Regions from separate parts of the Homo sapiens genome. Here region 1 is linked to region 2. Evidence: promoter capture Hi-C in human tissues and cell types (Jung and others, 2019). All regions are on one chromosome and are shown on one strand. The core of a region is centred on a gene start or on the middle of the fragment in contact, and the rest is flanking DNA. Distances in the headings are between cores, read along the strand shown.

Region 1 (6,628 bases), core at 2,352-4,851, 47 kb after region 2:
GCCGGGCCCATCCCGTCCAAAGACAAATGTCTGGAGTGCTTCCGCTCATCTTTAAAAGGCGGCCAGGCCCGTTTATCTTTGGAGTTCTTCTGTCTTAGGATTTTCCCTCTCTACTGTTTGTAATTTCATGAGCATGTCAGCCTAACGGTGAGCCGACCTTCAGGCTCCTAAGCGTGAAGGCCGGAGACTCTCCCTTTGTAAGGCTTAAATCTGAGTGCAGCAAAGAATGAGGAAACCAACCCCGGACATTTTAAAGTCGAATGACAATGGAGCCAGTGCCAATGTTGAGAAGCACTACCACCGTCCCTTAGAGTTCTATTTTGGTAAATACGAATGTTTAACCAGTTGGCAAAATATTTAACCCAGTTAGCAAAATTAACACCGTCATTTCCATAGTTACTCTGCCGTGTATGGCAAATGCTGCAAGATGAACATCCCATTTGATGAAGCACATTTGAGAAATGTTTGCCAGAAAGTGTGCCTCTGTCTCAGGACCCTAAGCCCAGGGGGATGAACAGAGACCCCAGCAGCTCTGTGCCTGCTGCCGTGCGGGTGACTCCTCTTCCTGCCGACAAGGTGGGCGATGAGAACGAGGAGGCCCAGTCCCACCAGGGCGCCGCCGACGGCGATGGGGATCGGCGTGTTGTTCTCGCCCAGCAGACGCTCCTCCGCAGATCCGAACTGGTTGCCTTCCACCTTGAAAGCCTGGCCCCACACTGGGAATATGTTGATTGAAAACGCCTTCGTGCCGCGGACACGCTCCGCTCCGGCTGTAGAATTGCCGATGGCTGCCCGCAATGCTCGCAGGGAGTCGTTGGCAGCTTTAAAAGTGGGGTCTCTGGGGTCAGGAAGAGTCGTATTCAGCTGGATTCCTCGTAGGAAAATCCGGCTAGAACCTGCATTCATCCCCAACCGGAAGCCCAGGACCGTGGTGCCCTCGCCGCGCCGCTCCCGGGTCTCCAGGTGGGCGCCGCGCTCCCGCTGGCTGAGGTCATGCCCAGGTCACCGTCGCGTGGTCCCTCCTCTCTGGGTGAGGTTCAGCTGCAGTCCCGCGCTGGCCGGCAGGCAGGCCCCGTGGGTGCCGCTCACGCTGTACCTGGCCACGGAGGGGAGAAGGGGCTCTCGGCGCCGTGGCGGGGAAGGCGCGTCTTGCTCGTGGCGCGTCTCTCCCTTGCTGAAGCTGCTGTTGGAAATCTAGGCCTGGATCGGGGCACCGCGGAGCCTGATGGTCTCGCTGTTCGTGCGGACCTGGGGGCCTTGATATCTGGTAGAGATTCCACAGTCCTGATTTCCTTGGAGCTTGCACTGAGGAAAATGTGTGTGTCTGACAAGTTGTAAACAAAACTCATGAGCTGGACGCTGTCACGTGTCGCACTTCTTGTGAAATGGAAGGTCAGTGTCTGTCTTCCTCCAAAGCACAATCGCGTGCCTGGGGTCGGAAGTGTTCTCTTTACTGCAAGAGCCACTGTCAAGCACTTCCGCATTGGATGGCAGGTCAAAGGTCACATTCTTAGAGCCACTCTTAGAGTCGTAGTTCATCGAGAAGGCAGCGAAGCTGGCCATTACGCAGGCTGTCCCGTTGCCCTTTTTCACCGCATCCGCTGCGGCTGCACCACGCACGAGGCCCAGCAGCAGCAGCAGCACCAGGGGCAGCCGGGGGCTCCACCAGATGCAGCCCGGGCGGCAGGCGCGAGGGGAGCCGGTGTGTGGGGAACCGGGGCGCGGGGAGGCGGTTGCGGGGCGCTGGCCTGAAGGACGGTGGCGTTCCTGGACCAAAAATATTCCATTTTCTGTTTGCTGCTATATATGCAAATAACATTAATTTTTATAAAATCGTGTTCTCTGAACTTGCTAAACTTACCTATTAGTTCTAGTGTTTGTTTTGTAGATTCTTGGGATGTTCTATGGAAACAATAATTTTGTCCCTGAATGAAGGCAGTTTTACTTCTTCCTTCCTTGTCTTTGTGCCTTTTATTTTGTTTTCTTGCCTTACTGCAGGGGCTGGGACCTACAGTGCAAGGCTGAATAGAAGTGGTGAGAAGTCCTCCTTGCCTTGTTCTCAATTTTAGGGTGAGAGTGTTCAATATTTTACCATCAAAAGTTAGCTCCAGGTTTTTCATAGGTGCCTTTCATCAGAGGGAAGAAGTTTCTTTCTGTTCTTAAATTTTGTCAAATGCTCTTTTAGCATCTATTGAGATTACCCTCTATCTTTTCTTTTTTATTCTGTTAATGTAATAAATTGCACTGACTGATTAATTTTTTCAATGTTAAATTAACTTTAAATTTTTGAGATAACTCTGCTATGTGCTATTGTTGCCATATAATTTACACTTACATATATTACAAACCCCACAATGCAACATCGAAACTTTTGCTTTAAATAGTCAGTTGTCTTTTTGAGAAATTAAGAGAATAAATAAAATATAGTCTTTTATTAACCCACATTATTTATCATTTCCAGTATGGTTGATTCTGTCCTGTAGACCTGCAGTTGATGTCACTTTATTTCAGCCTAAAGAATTTTCTGAAGCATTTTTGCTGCTGGTCTTGATAATAATGAAACCTCTGTTTCCTTCTATCTGAAAATGTCTTTTTTTGTTGTTTGTTTTGGAGACATAGTCTCACTCTGTTGCCCAAGCTGGAGTGCAGTGGCATGATCACAGCTCATTGCAGCCTCAACCTCCTGGGCTCAAGTGATTCTCCCGCCTCAATCTCCTGAGTAGGTGGGACTACAAGTGCATGCCACCACACCTGGCTAATTTTTTTTTTTTTTTTGTATTTTTTTGTAGAGATGGGGTCTCCCTATGTTGTCCAGGCTGGTCACGAACTCCTGGGCTCAAGTGATCCTCCTTCCTTGGCCTCCCAAAACGCTGGGATTACAGGTGTGAGCTACTGCCCCGGCCTGAAAATGTCCTTACCGAAGACATTATCCTTATTTTTGAAGTGTATTTTCTCTTTCTACAGAAATTTGAGTAGACAGTTTTTTCTTCTCTTGGCACTTTAACGATGTTATTTTGTTGGTTCTTATATACAGCAGTCTTATTGTTTCCCTTTATGTAATGCATCTTTTTTCCTTTAGCTTTTTTGAAGATTTTCTCTTACCTTTGGATTTTAGTAGCTGGACTATGAAGTACCCAGATGTGGTTCTCTTTGTCTTTTTATCCTGCTTGGGGTTTGCTGAGATTCTTGGATCTGTAGATTGCTGTTTTATGTCAAATTCAGGACATTTTTGACAATTAGTTTTTCAAATATGCTTTTTTTCTGCTTGAGTTTTTCTCCTTACCTTCTAGGGCTCCAAGAACATGTAATTAGACCACTTGATACCATCTCACAGGTTGCTGAAGTTCTGTTTCTTTCTCTGTCTTTTTCCCCATTTTCCCCCTGGTTTTTAAATTGGATAATTTCTACTGATCCATCTTTAAGTTCACTGTCCCTTTATTCTACAACCTGCTGGGAAGCCTATCCAGTAAAGCTTTCGTTTCAGATACGGTACTTTTTGGTTTTAAAATTTTCATTTGGAAGCATAAGAAACAACAGCTAAAATAAAAAGTGACTAATACCTTCTGCATAGCAAACAATCAATAAAATGAAATGGCAACCTATGGATTGGGAGAAAATATTTGCACATTTTATAAGGGACATAAAAATCTTATAAAATATATGGTTTGCAAATATTTTATAATATCCGAAATATATAAGGAACCCACACAACTCAACAGCAAAAAAACCAAAAAACAACACCACCACCCCACACATCCAAATAATCTGATTTAAATATGGACCTGAATAGACCTTTCTCAAAAGAAGACATAAAATGGCCAACAGATATTTGAAAAGCTGCTCAACATCATTGATCATCAGAGAAATGCAAACCCAAACCACAATGAGATGCCACCTCATACCTCTTAGGATAGCTTCTACCAAAAAGACAAGAAATAAGTGTAGACAAGGGTGTGAAGAAAGGGGAACCTTTGTACACTGTTGGTGGGAATGTAGGTTGGTGCAACCACTGTGGAAAACAATATGGAGGAGCCTAAAGAAATGAAAAGTAGAACTGCCATGTGACCCAGGAGTCCCACTTCCATGTATATACCCAAGGGAAAGGACATCACCACCTCATAAAGATACCTGCACTTCCATGTTCATTGCACCATTGATAGCCAAGATATTGAAACAACTGAAGTATCTGTTGATGGATGCATAAAGAAATTGTAGTGCTTATAAATACAGAGGAATATTATTCAGCCTTAACAAAGAAGGAGATTCTGCCATTTGCTACAACATGGATGAACCTAGAGGACATTATGCTACGTGAAATTAGCCAGACACAGAAAAAAATGCTGCGTGATCTCACTTATATGTGGAATCTAAAATAAAAATGGAATACATAGAAACAGAGAAAAATGGTGGTTACTAGCAGCAGGGGAAGGCACGGTGGGAGGTGGGGAATGAGAAAACGTTGGTCAAAAGGTACCATGTTGTGATTATCTAGGATGACTAAGGCTAGAGCTCTAATGTACAACATGAGGACTAGAGTTCATTGTATTGTATTGTATTGTACACTGGAAACTGGCCAAGAGCACAGAGTTTAGGTGTCCTTACCACACACAGGCTAAAGCAAAGGTAACTATATGAGATGATGGGTATGCTAATTTGCTTGACTGTAGTCATCCCTTCACTTCACTTTGTATATCAAGATAAGTACAGTTGGTCCTCCCATATCCACAGGTTCCACATCCCTGGATTCGATCAACTGTGGATCAAAAAGTATTCCAGAAAAAAGGATAGTTGCATCTGTACTGAATATGTACAGACTTTTTCTGTCATTATCCCTTAAACAATACAGTGTAGCTATTTATATAGCAATTACACTGTATTAGGTTTTATAAGTAATCTGGAGATGATTTAACGTATTAGGGAAGACTGTGTAGATTACACATAAATCTACACCATTTAATAGAAGGGACTGGGGCATCCATGGATTTTGGTATCTTTGGGGTGTCCTGGTCCAATCCCCATGGATGCTGAGGGATGACTGCGCATCACGTTGTGCACCTTAAATATATACAATCGAAAAGCAGGTCTAAAGCAAGAAAAAAATTCCTGTTTGGTTCTTATAATGATTTTGTACTGTGTCAAATTAGCTAAGCTGGAACTACACTTCCAGACTCAATGCCCAGTGTGGTTTCGAGTCAGGGTCAGCCAAAGAGAAGTGTGTGTGAGATTTGCAGACAGAAGTGCAGCAGTAGCCGTTTTGCACACTGAAGTCCGCACAGAATACCAGGCTCTGCCACTCTTTGCTGTAACCTACCGTCGTGCTTTCTAGGCATGGGCCGAAGCCAGATTCAAAGCCACCCGCTGCTGCTGGCTCTCCTCCTTCAGTTTCCCTGAGACCTAACCTGGTGAGGATGCAGCTCCTCATGGAAGGCACTGGCTCCGTCTGCGGGTCATCTGCCATCCTGATGGGTAGAGTTGGTGAGTGACAGATGTGGGTTTCAGTTTGTTTTCACGGATTCCTGTTTTTCCTCTTGAGTTCCAGTTCGTTCTTGCTTTCTTCCACATCTCATCCAGCTTTCCTTCCCAACTGCTGGTCATGCTGACCTACAATGACTTCAAGCTCACCATTGGATGCAGACACCAGCTTTCCATAGATTTCATAAACAGCTCCCACAGTTTCATAAGGTCTAATCCCTACGATAAAATCCTACATTCTATCACTCCCAGGGGCTCTGTTCTTTGACCAAGCCCTAACCATTTCTCCGCTGAGATTCTCCATCTGTTCCCTCATTATGAACATCTTTTCCTTTACACAGTTACAATGTCTGCACTAAAGTCATTCTAATTCTAACAGCTGGGTCATAACACTTTTTATTATATACTGGATATTTGAGGGGTAGGCTGTAGATACTCTTGTCTTCCTTTGAAGGTGTTTTTGTATTAAGCAGTAGTTAAATGATGGGTTGATAAGAACTGAGCATATAGAGGCTTGAATTCACATTTTGTTTGGGTGGGTCTGTCTCAGCTTTGTCTTTAGGCCTAGGGCGAATCTCTTGGTCGTGGGACAGTCTTTACTCCTAAGGTGTAGTTCTTCTGTGCTTTCAAAGGAAATCCTGAGGTGTTTACCAAGCCCCTCCACCTCTGTGTGACTCACACTCCAAACTGTCCCTACTACACGTGCAAAAGCTGAGATCCCGTGTTGAGATCCTGCTCTGGAATCCTGCTTTCGGCTTTCCGTGTTGCATTCCACTGGGGCACCTCGAGGCTTCCCTGTGTCTGCAGGGCTCAGGAGTCAGCCAGGAATTTCAGAGGAGTTTGTAAACAGATTTGGGGTCTAGCCTCCCTGTGGCTCGCTGCTTCTGGGCTAGCCCTCCTCATTTCCAGACACTCTGGAAATGCAAATTCTGTTCTCTGACACTTCACGGTGACAACCTTGCAGCCTTCTGCTTGAATTCTAGCTGTTGCGCTCCAGACAGACTGGGGAGTGCCCTTTGGGAAAAAGAGCCATCAAAACGCATATCACACCCAATGCAGTTCTCTTGATTCAAGGGTTGTTGCTGCCTGCTTTTGGTCGCTTTCAAGTGCCTTTCCGTTTTTGTTTTTTGTATTTTGTTCAGAGTTTATAATTGTT
Region 2 (6,709 bases), core at 2,975-5,474:
CATGCCTGTGCATGGTGGGCCCCTGTTTTAGACCCTGACCTTCGTCCCCAGGAGGGCCTGTCATGACCTGAAAGAGGAGGACAAATCTCAGACCCCTTCCTGCCCCAGCGGGCCTCCTGCCCCAGCTGACCTGGGTCCCTTCCCTCCCTCCTGTCCTCCCTCTCTGGGCTGTCCCTTGCCTTCCCTCTCTGCCCTGCCTCTCCACATTGATCTCGTGCCTTCCTCCCAAGCAGCTTTCCTGTAAGATCGCAGCTCAGCTCCGCTGGCAGACAACCTAACAAAGAGCCTCAATAAGGCCAGACCCGCAGGCGGCTTATCAAGATGTACGTCTTTGCTGTGCACACAGACTGTCACCTCGGTGCTGCTGTGTCATCACAGAAGGCAAAACCAAACAACTGTGCATGCACACACACATACATGCACACACATGGACACACACATATATGCACACACGGACACACATGCATGCACACACACTTGCACACACATACCCATGCACGCACACATGGACACACAGGCATACGCACACACTTGCACACACATGCATATACACGTGCACCATGCACATGCACACATACGTACACACACATGCACATACATAGCATGCACATGAACATATGAGTTTGCACACTGTTGAGTGCTGTGGTCCCAGGAGTCAGAAGCTCCAGCTTTGCCCTCCTAGCCCTTTATCTGCTTCTCTTTCCTCCTCCTCTGTCTTGAGAACCTAACCAGGAGACTGCGTGTTGCACGGGATAGGGACTGTGGGGCATGAGAGGGATCATCTTTTGTAACACAAGCTGAGGACCCGACAGGTGCACAGCGAATACTTAGGTCACAGAAGGCCAGTGCCAGAAGGGAGACCAGAGATCTCAACCCATCTCCTCATTCTGCAGGGCAGGAATCCCAGCCAGCACAAGGCCCAGGGCTGCTGAGTGAACTCACTAGCTAGCTAGTCACTGAGCAACAGAGTCTGGAGTCTGGGTCCCCTGATGCCCAGTCTTGAGCTCTTTCATGTCCTCCATTCCTCACTCAGTTGACACGAAGGCACTGGGGCCTGAAGGACACGGAACAGGTGAGGCCAGTCCCCCTGCTTGAACAGCTCTGTGTAGGAAAGGAGATGACTCCCTCTCCCCTCTCCCCTCTCCCCACGGTCTCCCTCTCCCTCTCTTTCCCCGGTCTCCCTCTGATGCCGAGCCGAAGCTGGACTGTACTGCTGCCATCTCGGCTCACTGCAACCTCCCTGCCTGATTCTCCTGCCTCAGCCTGCCAAGTGCCTGCGATTGCAGGCGTGCGCCGCCACGCCTGACTGGTTTTCATATTTTTTTGGTGGAGACGGGGTTTCGCTGTGTTGGCCGGGCTGGTCTCCAGCTCCTAACCGCGAGTGATCCGCCAGCCTCGGCCTCCCGAGGTGCCGGGATTGCAGACGGAGTCTGGTTCACTCAGTGCTCAATGGTGCCCAGGCTGGAGTGCAGTGGCGTGATCTCGGCTCGCTACAACCTCCACCTCCCAGCCGCCTGCCTTGGCCTCCCAAAGTGCCGAGATTGCAGCCTCTGCCCGGCCACCACCCCGTCTGGGAAGTGAGGAGCGTCTCCGCCTGGCCGCCCATCGTCTGGGATGTGAGGAGCCTCTCTGTCTGGCTGCCCAGTCTGGGAAGTGAGGAGCGCCTCTGCCCGGCCGCCATCCCATCTAGGAAGTGAGGAGCGTCTCTGCCCGGCCGCCCATCGTCTGAGATGTGGGGAGCGCCTCTGCCCCACCGCCCCGTCTGGGATGTGAGGAGCGTCTCTTCCCGGCCGCGACCCCGTCTGGGAAGTGAGGAGCCCCTCCGCCCGGCAGCCGCCCCGTCTGAGAAGTGAGGAGCGTCTCCGCCCGGCCGCCCCTACTGGGAAGTGAGGAGCCCCTCTGCCCGGCCACCACCCAGTCTGGGAGGTGTGCCCAACAGCTCATTGAGAACGGGCCAGGATGACAATGGTGGCTTTGTGGAATAGAAAGGCGGGAAAGGTGGGGAAAAGATTGAGAAATCGGATGGTTGCCGTGTCTGTGTAGAAAGAAGTAGACATGGGAGACTTTTCATTTTGTTCTGCACTAAGAAAAATTCCTCTGTCTTGGGATCCTGTTGATCTGTGACCTTACTCCCAACCCTGTGCTCACTGAAACATGTGCTGTGTCCACTCAGGGTTAAATGGATTAAGGGCGGTGCAAGATGTGCTTTGTTAAACAGATGCTTGAAGGCAGCATGCTCGTTAAAAGTCATCACCACTCCCTAATCTCAAGTACCCAGGGACACAAACACTGCGGAAGGCCGCAGGGTCCTCTGCCTAGGAAAACCAGAGACCTTTGTTCACTTGTTTATCTGCTGACCTTCCCTCCACTATTGTCCTATGACCCTGCCAAATCCCCCTCTGCGAGAAACACCCAAGAATGATCAATAAAAAATAAATAAATAAATTAAAAAAAAAAAAAAAGAGTCATCACCACTCCCTAATCTCAAGTACCCAGGGACACAAACACTGCGGAAGGCGGCAGGGCCCTCTGCCTAGGAAAACCAGAGACCTTTGTTCACATGTTTATCTGCTGACCTTCCCTCCACTATTGTCCTATGACCCTGCCAAATCCCCCTCTCCGAGAAACACCCAAGAATGATCAATAAATACTAAAAAAATTAAAAAAAAAAAAAAAAGGAAAGGAGATGAAGCAGACCACAGAAAGCTCCTGCACAACATGAGGGTGGCCCAAAGAGAATGCCAGAGATCGGAGGAGGAGCAGGGCCAGTCCTGTGGTGTTCCGGGGAAACGTCACCTTGCAGGGGGCGTTTAAGGAAGGGGGAAGCCACCCATGGGCAGGAGAGCATTTCAGGCCCAGGGAAGAACACGCTTTCATGGAGATGGAGAAGCAGGAAGTATGTTTATGGGGAGGTGGGAGCCTCTTTTGCTTGACAGTGGGATGTGTGGGAGGCACCAGCATGAGAGGTCAGAGGCGGGACTCCCCAGAGGTAAAAGACACTGCAGCTCAAGCCTTGTGCTGCCCGGGGACCCGGCAGAACGGACAGAAGGGAGTGAGCAGGAGCATCCTTCTAGGGGCATCCTGAGTCCAGGGGGTTCTTCTACACCCACCCCAGTCCTGGCTGTGAACCCCTCCAGCAAAGCAGGCAAAATGGAAGAGGGACATAGGACACGGTGATATATCGCTAGCACGGTGCTTCATCTGTCTACAGGCAGTGGACGCAAAGGAAGGGGGATTTAGGGTTCGTGCTCCAGGCTGGTGGGGCCCTGGCTCCCCTCTAGCTTGGTCCCTGACTCACTTGGCCTTCAGATCAGCCACTTCCCATCTCTTAGGATATCAATTTTTCTGACTTGCTTTGTCCTGATTGGTTAAGAAAGAGGCCTCCAAGTTCTTGAATGACAGTCTCTTCCCTTCGCATGCCTGACCCATCACAGATAAGAGCAAGGAGCCCTGAGAAGCCAAGCTCGTCCCTGGCACTGAGAACGGTCTGCAGGCTGCTGCTGCAGGCTGCCCTGTGCCCAAACTCCCAGCCTGCCAACTCTGGCATTCTGCTTCCCTAAGTAGTCCTGGCGTCGGGTGGTCAGACCCTGAGGCTCAGTGACCTCTGCATGACCATGTGATCCCTGGCTTTGTGGGGGCTCAGGGCCCTTTCCTGTAGGGTCATCTGGCACATGGACATGCCTGTGTACCCTTCTTTCGTATGACCGAGAGAAGGGTTCGGTTTTTCCTTCTCTCAGGCAGGATGGGAGACTCTGCCTCGCATGTCTCTAAAACAGGAGAAAGACCAGCTTCCCAGGGGGGCCTCCATCGGAACAGAAGTCAGCCGCTTGCTCTGTGTCTGCGCCTGTCCCTCTTTCCCCAGATGGAGGGGAAGAGAGGAGAGAGGCACAGAAGACAGGTGCAGCCGGGGGGGTGAGGGAGAGCCTGGAGGCGCAGGATGGAAGATGGAGGTGGTGGTGAAACCGCTTTCCTCCTCCCTGTGGTCGGCAGCGATTCATCCACAGGCGCCTTTTTCCACTGAAATGTGAGCGTGGCCAGGGTGAGCGCTGCCCTCGCGGCCGGCCGTGGTGCCTCTGGTGTGCGCCTGTGTGTGCTGCTGCCGCTGTCATCACAGATGCACCCCAGCTGTCACTCCCCGCTCCACTCTGGCTCGCTGCTCGCGCACACGCGTGCGCTCTCCTCCCTCGCCCCTTTCTTCCCTCTCTCCTCTCTCTCTCTCCCTCCATCCCTCTCTTTCCTTCTCAGTTTGTGACTGACCCAGCAGCCCCGTCCCCCGTCTGCCACAAGCAGTCCACCTCCTGGTGCTGTGTGCTGCGTGCCAGCCGCTGCTCCCGCTGAGTGGAGACTCTGGCACCAGTGCCCACTGCGCTCTGCCTGCCGGTGGTGTCTGGATTTCTATAGGAATCCCAGGAGGGTCTTACTGGAGGGTTGAGAGCCACCTGATTGAAGGCGTTTGCAGTCAGAGTAAAGACGGGTGAGTACCGAGTGGCTGGTAGGAAGGAATGGAGGGTTGGTGGGGACAGGGGGTGGTCGGGGCATGGGAAGTGGGCACCGGCCATCTCTGCCCTGCAGGAATAGCTGCAGTTGCTTCCTACCTGCAGGCAATTGCTGGGGCCGAAGAAGCTGCTCGGGCTCAGGCACCTGAGCATCCCAAAGGTGCACGACACTGGGAACTCTGAGCCCACAGTGCTGGGGACAAGAGCTGTGGATTCTGCTGGGAAGTGGGGAGGAGGGCAGCGCTGGCGCCAGATGACAGTCCCGGGTGGCATAGAAACCGGTCCCTGCAGCATGGGAGAAGCAGCCAAGAGCCTTGTGCTGTCGTTGTGCCCGGCTCTGCACAGACAGCCCCAAGAAACTCGGGGGTCATGGGAAGCGGTTGGGATGGCAGTCAGGTGCTGGGGACAGGGCCAGGTCAGAGGAAGGCTTGGGGTGGAGGGTGGCAGGGAGGAGGTCCTGGATGTCAGAGGCATGGGCACAGACCCAGGTCCTGGGCCTCCCTATAGCTTGCCTGCAGGTGGCTGTCCTTGGACAAGGGTGTGGAGGAACCCTCCCCCAGATGAGCATGGGCCCACTCAGCTGTGCATGAAGCCTCCCTGGTGAGGGTGAGGCTGGGAGTGGGCAGGAGAGAGAAGTATCGCAGCCCTTCCCTGCTAGCCCAAGGGCAAGACAGGAGAACCAGGCCCGCGAGAACCTGCTGGGGTGTCCCGCAGCTGTGCACCCAGCCGTCCATCTGCAAATGGGTCAGGGAGCCTTAGTGGGGGCTGGACACTGAGCTTGGGTGGGGGGTACACAGCGGGGCCAGGCCTGCCTGGCTTCTTGACCCACACAGGGGGCATGGACACCCTGAGTAGAGCGGGACAGTTGCTCTCAATCCCCCAGACCCATTTGGACAGTGCTGGAGAGAGGAGCAGCCTGACCAGGAGTCGGAAGTTCACATTCCTGCACCTCCCTGCAGGTCTGGGGCTGGGTTCCAGTTGGCGGCCCTGTCTCTCCCCCACCCCCAAGCTGTCCACATTTCTGGGGGGTGTTGGCACCCGGCTGTCAGGGCTACTTGGGCAGTGTCTCTTTGTGACTCAGATGACACCCCTGCAGCTTAGATAACTGCCTCAGGTGGGGGCGGGGAGGGAGCCGAGCACGTGGAGCTGAGGCGGGGGAAGTCCAGCTGGTAGGGAAACCCGACAGCAGCTTCCGAGCTGCCAAGAAGAGCCCAGCTTTTCCCACCCCCACCTCCCCACCGGCAGAAAGAAAGTCTCAGCACTGCCAAAAGAGGGAGACCAGGAAAGCCAGGCCCGCGGGGAGGGGTAAGGAGAGAGGCTGCTTAAGCAGCCGATCTGGTGTCTTTGGGGTTTGACAGAAGCTTGTCTGGGCCCACGAGGAGCAAACTCTGCTCCCGTTTCCCAGGCACCAGAGCCCAGGGGCCGCCTCTGGGCTGCTATGGCCTCAGTGGGCAGTGTAGGAAGGAGGAGGGGATGGCATGTATGTGATGGTTGGGGGTGTCTGGGAGTTCTGGGGGTGGGCAGAGGAGAAAGGAGCCAGCATAGAGGCTGTCTGCCCCTCTGGTCTTCCTCCTTTTTCCCCCAGCCAAGCCTCCTGTGCCCTGCCTGGGAATACCACCCTGAGCCCAGCCCCAGGGACACCACCCTGAGCCCGGCCCCAGGGCCCAGTGGACACCTTAGCCTCCTTCATGTCAGGGACCAGCTCCCATGAGGGGCCACTCAGGAGGCTTCTCTGTTCTGCTTCCCAGAGGGTCTGTTTGAGATTGAGAATATTTGACAAGGAAACGGGGGTGCAGGAGGCTGGGGGTGAGGATGGGGCATGTGTTTTAAAATGAACCAGGAGGGTATATGGCTGTTCCAAGTACAAATATAGAGATTTTTAAAACCTGGTTCCTTGCTGCCTGGGCAGTGTGTGTGATGGGGGTGATGGGCAGCTGTCCTAGAGGGCCTGGGTGCCCAGACAGGCAGCGGTAGGCGGAGCCCAGCCTAGACGGCTGTGGCAGCCTCCCCTGCGTCCTGGCCACATGGAATCTCGGGCCGTCTTTGGCCCGGGGCTCTGGCTGGCCACTCTCCGGGCTCCCTCTCAGCCTTCCTGGGGTTGGTGGAAGGGCACGGCCCCTGCAGGCCCAGGGTGTGGGCCCAGTCGTGGCTCTGCTTCTCTCTGGCCTTCTGCAGAGTGAAGGGGGCGGCAGAGTAGGCTGCAAATGCCCCCT

Evidence for each region. Contacts are between HindIII fragments. The study calls those that stand out against the background at their distance.
Region 1: a fragment that was not itself captured here is called in contact with the fragment with the promoter of LRTM2 in region 2 in 1 of the 25 tissues and cell types used here (pancreas).

The regions. Positions count from the first base shown.
Region 1 is chr12:1,864,029-1,870,656 of GRCh38, forward strand. All of the region lies in intron 18 of CACNA2D4 (calcium voltage-gated channel auxiliary subunit alpha2delta 4), which reads right to left. It also overlaps the pseudogene LAMP1P1. Among named protein-coding and RNA genes, the nearest start is that of LRTM2, 47 kb to the left of the region's middle. RefSeq lists an enhancer at 6,587-6,628. The HindIII fragment of the contact is 4,711 bases long and covers 1,247-5,957 here.
Region 2 is chr12:1,816,341-1,823,049 of GRCh38, forward strand. It overlaps LRTM2 (leucine rich repeat transmembrane protein 2), which reads left to right and starts at 4,225. Exons shown (of 5, transcript NM_001039029.3): 1 at 4,225-4,474. The region is part of intron 26 of CACNA2D4 (calcium voltage-gated channel auxiliary subunit alpha2delta 4); the gene reads right to left. LOC105369601 (a long non-coding RNA gene) reads left to right here. Exons shown (of 5, transcript XR_931546.3): 5 at 894-2,466. RefSeq lists an enhancer at 3,795-4,541. The HindIII fragment of the contact is 8,239 bases long and covers 1-6,709 here.